Linked DNA regions of Homo sapiens: region 1 is linked to region 2. The links are contacts of gene promoters, found by promoter capture Hi-C in human tissues and cell types (Jung and others, 2019). All regions are on one chromosome and are shown on one strand. The core of a region is centred on a gene start or on the middle of the fragment in contact, and the rest is flanking DNA. Distances in the headings are between cores, read along the strand shown. Region 1 overlaps CTBP2 (C-terminal binding protein 2). Region 2 holds the start of MMP21 (matrix metallopeptidase 21).

What was found. Contacts are between HindIII fragments. The study calls those that stand out against the background at their distance.
Region 1: a fragment that was not itself captured here is called in contact with the fragment with the promoter of MMP21 in region 2 in 1 of the 25 tissues and cell types used here (IMR-90 fibroblasts).

What each region holds. Positions count from the first base shown.
Region 1 is chr10:125,077,306-125,080,152 of GRCh38, reverse strand. The region is part of intron 2 of CTBP2 (C-terminal binding protein 2); the gene reads left to right. Among named protein-coding and RNA genes, the nearest start is that of MIR4296, 46 kb to the right of the region's middle. RefSeq lists an enhancer at 886-1,387. The HindIII fragment of the contact is 4,893 bases long and covers 1-2,847 here.
Region 2 is chr10:125,774,524-125,777,269 of GRCh38, reverse strand. It overlaps MMP21 (matrix metallopeptidase 21), which reads left to right and starts at 1,449. Exons shown (of 7, transcript NM_147191.1): 1 at 1,449-1,610. The coding sequence starts at 1,449. The HindIII fragment of the contact is 11,499 bases long and covers 1-2,746 here.

The DNA of each region.
Region 1 (2,847 bases), core at 339-2,838, 700 kb after region 2:
AAAATGCCTTCATGGTAGTTAAATTTATACTCTGTTAAAATGATTTGTGCACTTTGCAGTAAGCTGTGATATTAAGTGCATAAATATACAGCGGAGTTAACTTGGAGGAACGTTTTATTTGACAGGATCACTTAAATGCTCAGGTACAGTATCGAAACCATTTAGCATGGTTACCAGGAATGGAGGGTGAGCCGACTCTGTTTAAAATCTGCAGAAAACATTCAGAATCCAAAGGAAAGCTTGTAAGTAAGTACTTCTCCATGGAGTGCTTAATCGTGGAAGTGGTTTTCATCACAGGAGAGAGGATTGCAATTTCTAAATCAGTCTCCCTGCATCATGTGAGAAAATGCCTTGTAAATAAACTCTCCATTGGAATAGTCACTTGTCCTAAGCGTGGAACTGATTCTATTCAAATTAGCAACCATTATAGATATTTTGGTCTTCTATTGTCAATGACAATACATTTTCCTGTGGGAATAGGTTATTTAGTCCATATTGGGACATTACAGGAGAATTAATAATTAATGACATGCTAGTGCTCGGCCCACCCTTCTGTTTTTGTAGCCAAGGCTTGATTGGATTTTCTGTATGTATAATGGGCTGTTTCAAAATGGTCTTGCCTCATTGTTTCTTCATATCTTATTGAAACCAACCCACTGTTGATCTCAATCTGTGTAAGGAGAATGCGGAGTATGGCATTCGCAGGACTGAATCCCTAGATTTTAAGTTTGGAAGGAGATCCAACCGGGCAGATGAATTGACCGGTGGTGAATATTCTGTAGCATTTTCCTCCCTGGAGAGGAATGCCGCCACCGCTGGGAACCGTGGACTGGCATGTGAGCCAGTGGCTGTGAAAGGCGCTGTGCCCTGTGTCCTCCGTGTACTTTAGAGCAGGAGCGTCACACATGGTGGAGCCGGGTGATATCCCGGGCAGGCTCCCGAAAGCTCCTGGTGGCCCATCAGGGGCTGGTTTTTCCACCTTTTTTTTTTTTTTTTTTTTTTCCTCGAGACAAGGTCTCACTCTGTCACCCAGGCAGGAGTGCAGTGGCATGATCTTGACTCACTGCAACCTTTGCCTCCTGGGTTCAAGCAATTCTCGTTCCTTAGCCTCCCGAGTAGCTGGCATTACAGGCACTCGTCACCATGCCCGGCTCGTTTTTTTTTTTTTGTATTTTTAGTAGAGACAGGGTTTCACCATGTTGGCCAGGCTGGTCTTGAACTCCTGACCCCAAAATGATCTGCCCGCCTCAGCCTCCCAGAATGCTGGGATTACAAGCACGAGCCACCGTGCCAGGCCTGGTTATTCCAAATTTTTTGATTGGTCTAAAATTTGTAATGAATGGTAGGAAAACACAGCAGGAAAAAGAAAGAACATTATTATTGGTAAGGGTCAGATTAAGCCCTGGGTGAGAGTCATGAGTCCCTAGAGGTATCTGAAGAAGTCCTCCTGGCTTTGGCCATCTCTACAGGATCCGGTGATTGCTCCGCCTCCAGAGCTGTCCCCAACCATCGCAGCTTGGCTTGTCTGTGACCTCGTGTCAACTCAAAACAGCACTTTCCCCCCGACACTTTGAAGTCAACCCTGGTAGAATTTGTGAGGAAATGGCCAGTGTGTGTTGGGTTTAAAAAAAAAAAAAGGCTGTGGAAGTAGAACAATCTTGGGGTTGCCACAGAACAGGCAGTTTGAGGTGACGAAGTGGCTTTGTAATCAATAATAATTGATAAGACCTTGTTTCTAGCAGGCTGTAGACAAAAATAATCTTCTTGGACCTATCTTCGCCTAGGAAATATGTCCTAGAACCTCCCTCCTCTGTTGATCTCAACGCCCAAGCCCATCCTCCCATGAGAAAGGTTTTTTTTTTTTTTTTTTTTTGAGACGGAGTCTCGCTCTGTCGCCCAGGCTGGAGTGCAGAGGCGCGATCTCGGCTCACTACAAGCTCCGCCTGCCAGGTTCATGCCATTCTCCTGCCTCAGCCTCCAGAGTAACTGGGACTACAGGCGCCTGCCACCATGCCTGGCTAATTTTTTGTATTTTTAGTAGAGACGGGGTTTCACCGTGTTAGCCAGGATGGTGTCGATCTCCTGACCTCGTGATCTGCCCGTCTTGGCCTCCCAAAGTGCTGGGATTACAGGCGTGAGCCACCGCGCCCGGCCTGAGAAAGGTTCTTATGGGAATTGTGATGAAGGGGTCAGAGCAGCCCCCACCTCCCCCCATCAGCACCACCCAGGGCTGAATCTGAAGTCAGACTTGGCTGCTTAAGCCACAACCTAAGATAACTTTGAATACCAGGTGCTGAAATCACAGAACAGACTCCAAATGGTGGCCCCGTTTGGACTAAATGAGAGGTGAGCTGAGGTTGAACACGGGAGGCAGAGGGCCAGGGGTCCCGTGGGCATCAGCTGGGGTGGGCATCACCACGGTGCCCCCAGCTTTTTCATGGGTGATTTCTTCAGCTGACCTGGGTTTTCAGGGTTCTTTTAGGCAGGCTCCCAGTTGTTTGTGTCAGAGAGCCCTTTTTGTTGGTAATCCCAAGCCCAGAACTTTCCAGAATGTGCTGTTGGATGTGGCTTTATTCTTTGATCCCTTCAAAAAATGAACCACACCGATTACTATTGGCTGCCAGGCCTGGTGAGGGGGTGAGTGAGCCCTTTCTGCGAGCCCGGGGAGTTTGGAGCCAGATGGGGGTTCTTCCTTCCCCGTCTCCAGTCCTGTTGCTCTAAGAACACAGATAAGGGAGTCACTCCATCCCCAACAGGTGCCGCCTTATCCCTGCTGATGTCAGAAACCAACTCTGCAGAAACCAACTCTTCCCCAGCTCACACATGCTGGAAACGCTGAATGTGTCT
Region 2 (2,746 bases), core at 200-2,699:
TCCAAGTTGTTGTGCAGTGACGTGATCTCGGCTCATTTCAGTCTTAACCTCCTGGACACAAGTGATCCTCCAGCCTCAGCTCCCCTAAGTAGCTGGAACTATTGGCACGCATGCCACTACACCTGGCTAATTTTTGTATTTTTAGTAGAGATGGGGTTTCATCATGTTGCCCAGGCTGGTCTTGAACTCTTGCTGGTCTTGAACTCCTGGATTCAAGCAATCCACCCACCTTGGTTTCCTAAAGTGTTGGGATTATAGGTGTGAGCCACCACGCCCGGCCGATGCCAAGCTAATTTTTAAACATTTTTTGATAGAAATGAGGTCTCATTTTGTTGCCCTTGCTTGTCTCAAACTCCTGGCCTCAGTCCTCCTGCCTCAGCCTCCCGCAACGCTGGGATTATGGGTCTGAGCCACTGCACCTGGCCTCTCCGTATTTCTATGATTCTCAATATTCCCATGGACGGCTGTGACCCAGTCAGTCTGCACTCTCAGGAGGACATCTGCTCAGATAAAAGCCCAGTTCAGGGGCTCTGTCTTCAGGATCCCAAAGAAACTTGAGGCTTCTCCATGAGGGGAAAAAGTAGTGGGCTGAGGTGATTCTAGTTTATCCTTCTATAAAAATCTTTACCCACAGAATGGGACGCTGTGCAGTCATTAACTAGAACGATAAATACTTACATTCAGAAACAGAAAAGTGCCTGTAACGTTGTGCTGGCTTGTAAGAACAGAGAATAGAGTTCATGTAAAATGAGAGACACACACAAATACTTCTCTAGGCATCTGTGCATATGTATCTGCAAGAATGTTCACTGAAATGTCACCACCGGAATCACAGAATGTCTCCTTCATTCTCAGTACTTTTACAATTTATACTATCTGCTCAGAAGATCTCCTTTATATAAAGATAAACAAAAAGAAGAAAAGCCACACAAAAAATGTGTGAGAAACAAACTAAAAATCTCCAAACCCCAGTTCACCAAGAAAAAAAAAGTGACCCAAACTGTAAGCAAACTAACGGTCAGGGTTTTTAAACTCAGGCTCAGCTCTGAGAGGCATGTTGTTAGGGGCGCAGTCTCGTGCCTCTGTTAATTCCACAGCTCATTTAGCGGCAAACTTGCCCGCAGTATATCTCCATAGAAATGGAACCCACAGGCACTGGCAACTGGAGGATGTAATTATCGGAGGACATGGCAAACTCTGGAGGCTGAGAGAAGGAGTTCTCACACCAACAAGAAAGGTGAGCCTGGGGTCTTCAAAGGCAGCACGCCCAGGGCCTGCCACGTGGCCTCCTAGCGGGCACACTTCAGGGCTGGGTGAGAAATGCTTGGAAACCTGGGTGCTCCCTCCTGCGTAGCTTATAAAAGCCACCCTAGGTCCTGCTCCTTAAGGAGAGGTGACGGGGACGGGGAAGAAGCCAGGCAGGGAGGGCAAGGGTTCAGACCAGGCCAATGCTCGCCGCCTCCATCTTCCGTCCGACACTGCTGCTCTGCTGGCTGGCTGCTCCCTGGCCCACCCAGCCCGAGAGTCTCTTCCACAGCCGGGACCGCTCGGACCTGGAGCCGTCCCCACTGCGCCAGGCCAAGCCCATTGCCGACCTCCACGCTGCTCAGGTAGGAGGAAGCTGGAAGAACAGCAATACCCCCAGGCCCGTGCACGTGCACACAGGCACATGCGCACGCGCGCACAGGCACAGGCCAGGATGCCGGCTGTGCAGAGGCAGAGAAGGGCCAGGCAGGCTGGGCTGAGAGGGAGGAGTGGCTCCTGTGGCTCCTATTGGAACAACCATGAATCGATGCTTAACCTGATTCGACAATCCCACAGGTCAGCCCTAGTGAGAAAGAAATGTCAGTGCGCAGACAACAGACTCAAATGCCAAGTGCCTTTCCAAAGGCAAGCATGTGATACTGTAGTGGCCAAGGCACTGTCCGAAGGCATTCTGTGGCTGCTCACCATGCCAATCTCTGGATGTAGAGAAGGGGACAGCCCTGCAAGGTTCCCCAACACCGCAATAGTAAGGATCCTAACAGCTGTCTGGGGTGGCATCCGTGGACTTCACCGGAGTCTGTGGTGAAGCACCCAGGAGGTCCAATGCAGGCGATCCCCTCCTCCAGAGAGTCGTGGTGGCGGGCAGGGAGTGGACCCATGAGGCCCCTTCACCTGCTCTGGCACGTGGTCCTTTGGTCACCATAGGCCAGGAGCTGATGCTCAGGGTCAAGTCCAATCCCCAGCTCCCACAGTGCCCCAGAGGCCAGGGCAGGGAGCAGGAGAGCCGCCCTGTGGCCAGGCCCGCAGCCGCGTGGAGGCCGCTGACCTCCCTCCCGCTGTGCGGCCATGAGGAAGCCCCCCAGGTCCTCAGACCCAACCACTGCCAAGCCCCTCAGTTCCAATTCCCAGCTCTCAGGACGTGCCTCCCATGGCTTTCTCTGCGGTGTGGCCACGCCCGGACTTCCTTGGCACCCCCCACCTGCCCCGCACGACCTGCCCTGCGCGACCTGCCCCGCAAGGCCGGGGGGAGCGTCTTCCTCCCCCGCGACCTCTTACCTCCTCCCGGCACTCGCCCACCCCGCTGCCCAGGTCTCCTGCTCCTCCGGCCCTAGGGCGCCTCTGACTCAGCCTGGTGCCCATCCAGGGCCCGCACTCAGGAAGGCGCCCAGGACTCGCTCCTTCTCTCCTGTCTACCTCTCTCCTGTCTCTGTCTCTCACTGCCGCTCTCTCTGTATCTCTATCTCTCTCTGTCTTCCTGTTT